Linked DNA regions of Homo sapiens: regions 1, 3 and 4 are each linked to region 2. The links are contacts of gene promoters, found by promoter capture Hi-C in blood cells and fetal thymus (Javierre and others, 2016). All regions are on one chromosome and are shown on one strand. Each heading gives the region's core, a stretch centred on a gene start or on the middle of the fragment in contact. The rest is flanking DNA. Distances are from core to core; before and after follow the strand shown. Region 1 overlaps ARL15 (ARF like GTPase 15). Region 2 holds the start of ITGA2 (integrin subunit alpha 2). Region 3 overlaps ARL15 (ARF like GTPase 15). Region 4 overlaps ARL15 (ARF like GTPase 15).

Region 1 (2,760 bases), core at 55-2,554, 1.2 Mb before region 2:
CAGGAGGTTATTAAGTCTGGGGGCTATGGCCTTATGAATGGGATTAATACCTTTATCCAATGCTTCCAGGAAACTAGCTAGGCCCTTTTCATCCTTCTGTCTTCTGCCATGTGAAGATGTAGCAGAAGGCCCTCACCAGACACAAAATGCCAGTGCTTTGATCCTGGACTTTCCAGCCTCCAGAACTGTGAGAAAATGAACTTCTGTTCTTTGTAAATTACGTATTTTGTTGGAGCAACAGGAACAGTCTAAGACAGTGGCCATCCTAATGATATCTCACTGTAATTTTTTTTTTTTTTTTGAGACAACGTCTCATTCTATCACCTAGGCTGGAGTGCAGTGGGGTGATCTTGGCTCACTGCAACCTCCACCTCCTGGGTTCAAGCAATTCTTCTGCCTCAGCCTCCTGAGTAGCTGAGATTACAGGTGTATACCACCACACCTGGCTAATTTTTTTGTATCTTTAGTAGAAACGGGGTTTCACCGTGTTGGCCAGGCTGGTCTCGAACTCCTGACCTCAAGTGATCCACCTGCCTTGACTCCCAAAGTGCTGGAATTACAGGCGTGAGCCACCACACCTAGCCCTCACTGTAGTTTTGATTTGTATTTTCCTGATGATTAGTGATATTGAGCATCTTTTCATGTACTTAATTAGCCTTTTGTATATCTTCTTTGGAGGAATGTCTTTTCAAATTCTTTGTCCATTTTTGAACAGTTTTTTTATTGTTCAGTTTTAGGAGTTGTCTACATATTCCAGACATTGATCTCTTATTAGAGATATGATTTAAAAATATTTTTTCCCATTCTATGGACTAACTTTTTACACTATTGACATTTTCTTTTGTTGTACCAAATGTTTTAGTTTTGATAAAGTTCAATTTGCCTATTGTTTCTTTTTTCATCTGTGTCTGTGGTATCATGTCCAACAAATTATTGCCAAATTCAATGTCATGAAGCATTTGCCCTGTGTTTTTTTCTAAGAAAAAACTTTCTATGTTTCTATGTTTTTTATACTTTTAGGTCTTACATTTAAAGCTTTTATTCATTTGGAGTTAACTTTTGTATATGGCATTAGGTAAGGGTACAACTTTATTCTTTTGTGTGTGCATATCCAGTTTTCCTAGCACCATCTGTTGAAAAGACTGTTCTTTCCCACTGAATGATCTTTTCACCCTTGCCCAAAATCATTTGACCACATATGCAAAGGTTTATTTTGGGGATCTCTATTCTATTTCATTGGTCTATATGTCTGTGTTTATGCTAATAACATGTTCTTTTGATTACCGGACGTTTGTTTTGAAATCTGTATGTGTAAGTCTGGAGCTCCAGCTTTGTTCTTTGTTTTCAAGATTGTTTTGTCATTTGTGATTCTATATGAATTTTAGGATGGGCTTTTTTATTTCCATAAAAAAATTATTTAGATTTTGATAGGATTGCATTGAATCCATTTGGGTAGTGTTGACAGATTAACATTATTGTCTTTTGTCCATGAACATGGGATGTGTTTCCATTTATTTGTATCTTCTTTAATTTCTTTCAGCAATGTTTTGTGGCTTTTATTGTACAAGCTTTTCACCTCCTTGGTTAAGTTAGTTCTTAAGTGTCTTATTCTTTTACGTGCTATTATAAATGGAATTATTTTCATAATTTCCTTTTCAGGTTGTTAATTATTAGTGTACAGACATGCAACTGATTTTTGCACATTGACTTTGCCAGTGACATGAACCTGTATGTAGAAAACCCTAAAGATTGCACAAAAAAAATGGTTAGCTTGAGACGTAAACCTTAGGCAAAGAGAAGTTTGTGATTTGTAAGAAATTTAAAATTAATAGGATTAAAAAGAGAGCTGTGGGCCTTGTTATGTATTTGCTTTGGAAGCCCTCTAAGAAAATTTCAGGTCAATTTTTTATTCTCTGCCCTACTGGAATGCCCCCAGATTATGTGACAATGAGGTCTTATTTTAATATGTGCAGAATTTGTTAAGACTGACATTCTTTGTTTCAGATTTTTACATATCAGAGAATTCTTGCATTTTTCTGGTGATGTCTTATTCCTCTTGTGTGGGTCCCAAGTGAGCCCTGATCCTCTCAGATACATTTTATATACTCTGTTGGTGATGAATATTTTATCTCTGGCAAATACTGTCCATGTCTAATTCCCTTGAGGACCTTGGTATCCAATATTATTGTAATTATAAAATCAATGTTAACACTAAAGTCAAAGAGTCATGAGCATGCCCTTTCTTGCTTGTGAAGAGCCATGGGGAGATAAGCAGTCTGTTCAGGATGGAGTCATAATTCCTTGTATAGAATATCATAAATTATTTCCACAGATTCACCAAGCAAATGAGGCCTAATGTCCTTTTCTATAAAATACATGCCTTTACCTAATCCTTTCCCTCCCACTCCCATTCCCCCACTGCTTTTTCTTAACATGATAGTTTACTGTGAGCCTTCAGGTTTTTTTCCTTTTGGGAAAGCTGAGTTTGTTAGCCAAGGACCTTTATTTATTTATTGCTAACCATAAATATGATTGCTCCATTTTTTGTTGCATGTTCCAGATGAGTAGTTTTTTTTATTCTTGTTGTAACAGTTGCTTCACAATTATGGTGTGATATGCAAATTGGAAAAGGGAGACTTGAGGGATTGTACCTTACTTAGACAAACATGTCAAAAACCAGAATGTTTTTATTTAAAAAAGAAAGAAAGAAAAGAATGGCTAGTCACACATCCTTAAGGAGTTTCTGTCTATCTACACTGC
Region 2 (2,890 bases), core at 78-2,577:
GACTAGGATTCATTCCTCCACAATAAAGAATAGCAAGTGGCTGAATGTCAGTCTCAAAGGAGGACAGCTTAGGAAATATTTATCTTCTTTGTAAAAAAAAAAAAAAAAAACCACACACACACTTTAAAATCAGAGACAACTTTTTTGTTTTGTTTTGATCGCTGTTCAAACTACATTATACAAACGTGTCTCCTTCTCCCTCCAAATAAACTAAAATTCTTAAATTTGACCACACTCTAGCTCTGCCTAATGGTCAGGGAAAAAGTACTCAGGCGATGGTCCCACAAAAGCTCTCCACCCCAGCCTTATTTCCTCCTCTTAGTGTAAAAGAACTCAGGAGGTGGGCGGGCCCCACTGCCACAGCACTACAGTTAGAGCGGCTGCTCCGGCTTATTCTCTCATTGCGGCATCTAGGATCCAGAAGTGAAAAGAACTTTTCCTAGCCTAAGTTTACATTCGTCGAATAGACAATGTTACAACAATAAGAGGAAGGCAGAAGGGAAGGAAGAATTCCCCTCTGCCAAGTATTTAAGTGGCGCTTGGTTTATTCCAAGTCCCCCCGGGAAGAAACACAGCGCTTCGTCCTCAAGTAAGAAATAGAGGCATTATTCACATCCTTGGGTTGAAAAATAAGCATTTTGGGGCTCGCAGGCTTCTGCAAAGCCAGCAAGCACCGCGCTGGGGAGCTGCAGGCCGCCATCAGCAATGGATTCCGGATTTCCCTGGTCTCTGGCAGGCGCGGCACCTGTCTGAGCCAGGGGAAGTTGGGCTGCAGGACTCGCGGTCTCCAGGACACCCGCGGATCCCCACACTGTCCATGCTTGAGTGCGTGCGTGTCTGTCTGTGTGTGTGTGTGTGTGTGTGCGTGTGTGTACCTAAAACAAAGCACTCACTGAGATGACTTTGGAGGGTGCTTAACAGACAGGGCGAGACGCGCCTAATGGGGACGCAAGGCCTGGGATAGCAGGAAGGGAACGAAGAAGTATCTCTTTCCAAGCAGGTCCTGGTGGCTGGGAGCCCGAGTCCACGTGGAATCCGAGGGAACACACGGAGCTCGCTCCCTAGTTCCGCCCAATCCCTCCAGCGAGCCCCAGGAAGCCGCGCGGGTCCCTCCTGCAGCCGATGCAGAGCGAAATCCCCGCTTACCTTGACTGAGCGCTAACACCAGCAGCAGCGGCAGCGGCGCGGCCCCTGTCCGTTCTGGCCCCATCCTGGGTCTGACCGGGGGACCGTAGTTGCGCTGGGTTTGCAGAGGTTTGCAGAGGATACCCTTGGCCGAGGGATACGAGAACCTGCACACTCTAGAAGCTGTCCAGAGGGCTTCTCTCCCCCGCCCGGTGAGAGCAGGGAAAAGTTTCTGGGCAGCTCCTGCAGCGCCGAGGGCCCGCCCCAGCCCGCCCCTCCTGATTCCGCAAACACCGGATCTGCTCCGGCCGCGCCCCGCCCCACCCCGGCCCTGCGGCCCCGCGGGCTGCACCTCGGCTCGTCCACACGCGGGGCACCGCACCTTGGCTCCCGTACAGCGGCCCAGCCCCGGCAGCCTGGAGGCGGTGGGGATGGGGATGGCGCCCTGGCAGGCTTTCCTGCCCTGGACGGGACGGGTGGGCATATCCGACGGGCGAGCGCCCGCCCTGGCACCACTCCGCCCCCGCAGCCTGTCGCCAGCACGCAGGAGATGCCCCAGTCCCCGGGAGAACGTGGCCCCTCCGCAGCCCTTGGCAGCGCCCGGCTCCTGGCAGCGGGTGCCGAGGGCACTAGCCCTAAACCACAGTGCCTAGGGGCTGCGCGGTGCGTCCCTTTCTCTGTTTTTCCTAAGTGGGTGGAGAAAGGGACAAAAATAAGCGCAGAATGACCAGGTTAGAAACTAACTCATCAGGAAAGAAGATCTGCTCACAAGTTATGATTATCCAAGGTGATATTTAAGCAATACCTGCTGCAAGAGCTGTGTGTGTGTGTGTGTGTGTGACAGAGAGACAGAGAGAGAGAAATCATCATTACTTCCTCTCCTCCGAGATAATTAAGAGCTGATTTAATGACTGAGTTTAGGAGATTAACTTCAAGGCCAGAGAAAAGGCTGAGAGCCCATACATGCACTTGTGACTCTCCCTGTCTACATTACACCATGACATAGACTGTGACCATTTTCTTCCATTATTTCAGTCTCACATCTGGAAAGAGAACATTCTATATCCGAGATTTTTAGTTAAAAACCTAAGAAATAGGATATTAATTTTTCTTGTCTGAATCTTATGTTTTATCCAAAAGTTTGGCCACAAATTTCCAGCACATTGCTGAAACCAGAATTCTTCCAGTGACTACTTTTGTGAAGGAACGAACTGTTTTCATAAATCAAGCTTAAGGAGTTATGAGTCTAATAATCATCATTATTGTCATCATTCCAGATCTTCATGGAATGCTACTATGAGCTGAATGGGATGCCTGAGATACTGCCTCTAGGAAGCAAAGTGGCTCAAGGTGGGAAGGACTTAATAATTCATAAAAATCAAGCTCTTCTCTTTACTATAGATAGGGCTGATGTGTCACATTGTTAAAGTATTAAATTGGTATGCATCAGATGTTGCTGCTGATGGCTTATGACTAATACCCTTTGAACCCAAATTATATAGTCCCAGGCTCTTTCCTGTTTTCTTATCAGTCACTTACTGGCTGCACTTACTCACCTTGACAAACACCTGAAGGCATTTTTTTCTGAATTGTCTGGGGTACTCACCTGCTTACTAAAACTCCGGCTATCACCTGAGAGCTCTTAGGTGGCTGCTCACTAACCGGTGACACGATTTTGACGCTCCTTACAGACTTTTTGAAGGAAGTCAGCCAGGTTTCAGGGAGATGAATATCTGTCTGTTTCCTTCTGACTCACTGAAATGTG
Region 3 (2,751 bases), core at 2-2,501, 1.3 Mb before region 2:
GCTTTTTGGATAAGGTAGGAGAAAATAGTCAGGTTAAAATGAAAGAGAAAAACACATTTCTCGAGTTTTCCTGGGAGGTTGGACAAGATCAACTTCTAGATTCCTTTCAGTTCAAAATTTTCTGTCTTGACTCATGTGATGATTGATCTGGAATTAACCTTTTTTCCCTCTGCGCCATCAAAACAACAGTGGTAGAATTGGTTGTACTCTGTGTAATACCTATGATGATTAAATGAGATAGTGGAGGGAAAGCCATTTGTAAACAGTACGTTGCTTTTCAAATATAAAATGTTAACGTATTGTGTGGCTGGGCGAGGTGGCTCACGCCCGTAATCCCAGGACTTTGGGAGGGCAAGACAGGCGGATCACTTGAGGTCAGGAGTTTGAGACCAGCCTGGCTGACATGGAGAAACCCCATCTCCACTTAAAATAGAAAAATTAGCTGGGTGTCGTGGCGCATGCCTGTAATCTCAGCTACTTGGGAGGCTGAGGCAGGAGAATCGCTTGAACCCAGGAGGCAGAGGTTGCAGTGAGATCGCACAACTGCACTCCAGCCTGGGCGACAGAGTGAGACTCCGTCTCAAGACAAAAAAAAAAAAAAAAAGTTAACGTATTGTGATTATGTTGCTGATGTTACTTTTATACCTCCTGTAGAATGACTGTTACTGCTTAGTGGTATTGAAATACCTTTTAAACTAGTCTCAATTTATGGAAATACTGGGAGTTGTAATCAACAAGCAGGAAGTCACAAGACTCTTTTAAGAATCTTTTAAAAGCTACGAAAATAAAACCCATTTGAATAATTTATCTATTCAACAAATATTTATGGAGCCCTTACTTTCTGCATGGCCCTGAAAGTCATGCGGGATGAACCCTCAGCTGTAATATCCTCCTTGACTGCAGGACTGGCAGTCGTGTGGCTCTAGAGGAACCTGTGGCAGGACAGGTTAAGTAAGGCACATAGGGGAGGGGGTAGCTTCTGATGTGCTTCTTTGCTTTCTAGTACATTTCTCTCATTTTGTGTGTTTTATTGTGAACTAAAATATAAACTTAGACTTGAAAATGTGACAAGTAAAAATGGTTGATTAGTCTTGGATGCTAATTGTCAATTAATATTCATTGCATTTGTTTATAGTAGCCTCCACCCTCCCATCCACGGTTTTACTTTTCAAGGTTTCAGTTAACCATGGTCCACCGAGGTCTCAAAATAAGTGAGTAAAGTACAATAAGATATTTTAAGAGAGAGAGAGACCACATTCATATAACTTTTATTACTGTATATTGTTATCATTGTTCACTTTTATTATTAGTTATTATTAATCACTTACTATGCCTAATTTACACATTAAACTTTATCATAGGTGTGTGTGTATAGGAAAAAATATAGTGTGCTCTGTGCTATGTTAGTTAGTTCTATGATAGCTCAGTACTATCTGTGGTTTTAGGTATCCACTGGGACTTGGAATATATCCCCCATGGATGAGGGGAAACTACTGTACCGTGTTGGGGATTTTTTATTTATTTATTTTTTTTTTGTGACAGAGTTTTGCTCTTGTCATGCAGGCTGGAGTGCAATGGGGTGATTCTCCTGTCTCAGCCTCCTAAGTAGCTGGGATTACAGGTGCCCACCACCATGCCCAGCTAATTTTTGTATGTTTAGTAGAGACGGGGTTTCACCATGTTGGCCAGGCTGGTCTCAAACTCCTGACCTCAGGTGATCCACCTGCCTCGACCTCCCAAAGTGCTGGGATTACAGGAGTGAGCCACCGTGCCCTGCCAGTGTTTGGGATTTAATAAGATTAGATTTGATAGGTTAGTTTAATAAGATTTCTTTGTATAGACTGGTGGACTTGACCTATTTAGTTTCTTGGTTATAGGCTGTATCTGCCATCATAAAAATGTATGTCTCAGTGGGGAAGATGTGGTGAGAGAATTGGGTTGATCATCACAAATCTGTCACCATTTGCAGGATAAAAACCAGCTAACTAACCAACAATAGAAACCCATGATGTGCTACAAAGGGTAGAGCCCACAGGCACTATGAAATTGTAAAGGATCCTACTTGAAAAGAGGAGTGAAGGTACATTTGTGATTTCATATTATGTTCAGTTATCTGTGAACTGAACTTCTTTATTGATAAAAAAAAAAGTACATTGTTTCGTTGTTTTTAACCCTGAATATCTATGAACATTGTAAGTTGTATTTATTGTGACTAACTTTAAAGTGATAATGTAGGTCACTTTTTAGTCTAAATGTCGAGTGGATTAGGCAGTCATATTAAATATTCCTTTCTTAATAATTTATAAGATAAAAATTATCTGAGCACAATAAACAGATCTACCATATATGGAGTTCATATAGCAAAAATGTTTTGAGCAAATCCGTACCATTAGGTAGGAACTTTTCTACAAAGGTGTTAAGTCTGGTTCCCAAACTTCTGTGGCTCCAGTCTAACAGTATGAGCCCTAGGAGAGGACACATAGGGACCTTGATTCATGCCCTCCAGGGGCTTGCATTCTGAAAGATGCCAAAGCCACATGCTTGTTGGCATGTGGGCAGTGCTCAGGTCGGGGGTGAGAGGAGATAAGTATATGAGTTATAATCAGGAGGGCAAAATCAGTTAACATTTATTGAACACTTACTCTGTGCCAGTGTTCTAAGTGCTTTGCATGTGTAATAGCATTAAACTGAGGCTCAGGGAGGTTGTGTAATTTCCTCAAGTTCACACAGCTAGCAAGTAGTTGAACTGCG
Region 4 (2,700 bases), core at 26-2,525, 1.2 Mb before region 2:
TTCCCCACCCCTACCACCAAACATGCTTAATCTTTCTCAATCTCCATTTGACTAATTAGTTCACAGCTAAGAAAGCATATTTTCTTTGAGCAGATTATGCCAATAGAGAAAACAGAAAAAATAGTCCAACAGGACAAACACTGTTCATTGTACACCCAATAGCCATTTATCCTTCTTGCTAAAATACCCTGGTCTGAGGCAGCAATGTGTCTAGCCCCAGGCAATGAATGAACCATGATTGGTCTAAGCCACTTAGACTCCTGTGTTCCCTGTTTTCTCAGCTTCTCTTACAACTAGATGTGGCTGTGTTGCTCGGTTCTGACTAGTGATCTTATGGGGGAGGGGGTCTGCTTGAGGTTCTGTGGGGAAAGTTTTTGCTTTCCTGTGAAAAGGGACAGATGTGGCCTTTTCCCTTTTCTACCTTCCTTTTCCCTTTTCCTCTTCTTAAACAGAAATGTGACATCTGGAGCTGATGTGCCCTTCTTACTACCTTACAAAAAAGGCCAGCTTCTTTTTAATTAAGTCTCATTTGTTTAAACCAGGGATTGACATTTTGGTTAAACCATTGGTTGGCAAATTATGACCCATTGGCTGATTGCCTATTTTTGTAAGTAAAGTGTTACTGAAACACAGCCACGTATTGACTGTGGCTGCCTTCATGCTATGACAGAGTTGAGTAATTGTGACGGAGACTATATGGCCTGCAGGTCTTAAATATTTACTCTCTGGCCCTTTAGGTTTGGTGATGCCGTTTAAAGCACCTAACATGAATTTTCTGTTACTTGTAGCCAGACACATTCCTAATGGAATCAACCAATAACCAAGATCCTTAAACAAATTAGTGACTTGGCATTTCTTCCTACTCAAATTACTCTTTTCTGGTTAAGTAGGTGTGCTCCAGATAAGCATATTCCTCATTTTGGACTTTATCTACTCCTCTTTATTTCCTTCCTGAACTCTCTGATTATCATATTCTTTTTAAAAGTAAGATAAGAGTATAAAAGTATTTCATTTGGCCGGTCACGGTGGCTCGTGCCTGTAATCCCAGCACTTTGGGAGACTGAGGCGGTCGGATCACCTGAGGTCAGGAGTTCAAGACCAGCCTGCCCAACATGGCAAAACCCTGTCTCTACTAAAAATACAAAAAATTAGCCAGGTATGGTGGCGGGCACCTGTATTCCCAGCTACTCGCGAGGCTGAGGCAGGAGAATCGCTTGAACCTGGGAGGCAGAGGTTGCCGTGAGCTGAGATTGCACCACTGCACTCCAGCCTGGGTGACAAAAGTGAAACTCTGTCTCAAAAAAAAAAAAAAAAAAAAGTGTTTCATTTAAGCGCTGCCTAAAACTAATGTCAGCTCTTTGATATTCCAATCTTTTAACTGCCCAAGGAATTATTTTCTAATGCTCAGATAAAATTGTCAGGGCTTTCACTCGGTGAGTAGGGTCTATTCATGGATCTTAAAACCTGAACCGATAGAACAGCTCTACAGCTCCTTGTATTCTGCTCCCAACCTTCCTGTCCCCTCCAAACTTGTTGCCCTTTGTGGTCTGGTGGAAGCAGGAGAAAACCCTGCAATAGCCCCCACTCTGTGACATTTTGGAATACTTTGTGCATACCAAACAAACCACTAACTTGATTTGGGAAGATAAACTGAAAATACATTTCTAGTTCAGTAATAGCTATAATTGGACAGTCTGTCTTTTGAACAATAAAAATAATCCTAGTTTCGTTTTGTGTAAAGATATAACATCTTATGTGTGACTGCAAAAATAAGCAAAAACTACTTATTAAAATATGTGTATTTTCATTTTGTTTGCTGACAGTGTCAGGTAGTAATTGTGCTGGTTTTGCAGACTCTGTAATGTGTTATTGCAGAAAAAGCACTAGATTGGGTTCTATGAGACTGAATTAACCATGAGTTGTTTGTCAACTGAATTAACTTCTCTGTGCCACAGTTTTGCATCTCAAGGAAAAGAGATTGAACTATGTGGCATATAAGGTCTCTTTCAATTCTAATATATTTGTATTTGTAAATATTCTTCAGGGTGGCTAGAACCTACTTGAGGATTAGTCAATTCAAATAATAGCAACAGCAGCAACAACTGCAACAAAACTTCCTTTGGAAAATCAACATACTTTAGTCAGAATGGCCCTTTAATTTTTAAGGCCCAGATGCCTCAAAGGATTTGTCATGTACAGTTATCATTTGTTGTCAGAGGACTATTCTGGGGGATAGAATGTTATGGGTGAATTTGGGTTCTGTGATGGCCATTTGCAATGCTTTAGCTTGATAATCAAATATAATATATTTCACAATACATTTATCATTTTGTTGAAATAACGTAATGAGTGAAGCCATTGTCTTGAAGTACAAGTTTCCAAGAGAATATTCGGAGCAAATTGGCTGGAAAGTGAGTGGATTATAGTAAAATAAAATAGATAATAGGCATTATTTTTAATAAAATGTTCTTGCCTTGCTTAAGAAATATAGTTCATGAAAAAGAAAATTATAATTTGATTGGGAGGATTTTATGGTAATGATGCCTGTGTCACAGAATCTTACAATATATTTTGAAGTGGGTACGTTTAAAAATGTCTTGCTTTTTAGAAGAATACTTAATAACAAAGAAAAAGCATATTTTTGTTAATTTTACTTGTTATGCCTCTTTGCCTTTTCAGCTTTCATGGAAGACATTAAGG

The links. Contacts are between HindIII fragments. The CHiCAGO score rates a contact against its expected background, and 5 or more counts as called.
Region 1: a fragment that was not itself captured here is called in contact with the fragment with the promoter of ITGA2 in region 2 in 1 of 17 cell types (naive B cells); the score reaches 5.3 in naive B cells.
Region 3: a contact is called between a fragment that was not itself captured here and the fragment with the promoter of ITGA2 in region 2, in 2 of 17 cell types (naive CD4 T cells and activated CD4 T cells). The highest score is 5.6, in naive CD4 T cells.
Region 4: a fragment that was not itself captured here is called in contact with the fragment with the promoter of ITGA2 in region 2 in 2 of 17 cell types (M0 macrophages and naive CD8 T cells); the score reaches 6.7 in M0 macrophages.

Annotation. Positions count from the first base shown.
Region 1 is chr5:54,187,934-54,190,693 of GRCh38, reverse strand. The region is part of intron 1 of ARL15 (ARF like GTPase 15); the gene reads left to right. Among named protein-coding and RNA genes, the nearest start is that of ARL15, 120 kb to the left of the region's middle. The HindIII fragment of the contact is 533 bases long and covers 1,038-1,570 here.
Region 2 is chr5:52,987,789-52,990,678 of GRCh38, reverse strand. It overlaps ITGA2 (integrin subunit alpha 2), which reads right to left and starts at 1,327. Exons shown (of 30, transcript NM_002203.4): 1 at 1,147-1,327. The coding sequence starts at 1,210. ITGA2-AS1 (ITGA2 antisense RNA 1) reads left to right here and starts at 393. Exons shown (of 4, transcript NR_186583.1): 1 at 393-589; 2 at 2,403-2,475. RefSeq lists a silencer at 1,374-1,523 and an enhancer at 1,988-2,890. The HindIII fragment of the contact is 2,612 bases long and covers 1-2,356 here.
Region 3 is chr5:54,304,245-54,306,995 of GRCh38, reverse strand. The region is part of intron 1 of ARL15 (ARF like GTPase 15); the gene reads left to right. Among named protein-coding and RNA genes, the nearest start is that of ARL15, 5.0 kb to the left of the region's middle. RefSeq lists an enhancer at 1,661-2,324. The HindIII fragment of the contact is 5,398 bases long and covers 1-2,751 here.
Region 4 is chr5:54,210,086-54,212,785 of GRCh38, reverse strand. The region is part of intron 1 of ARL15 (ARF like GTPase 15); the gene reads left to right. Among named protein-coding and RNA genes, the nearest start is that of ARL15, 99 kb to the left of the region's middle. The HindIII fragment of the contact is 5,856 bases long and covers 1-2,700 here.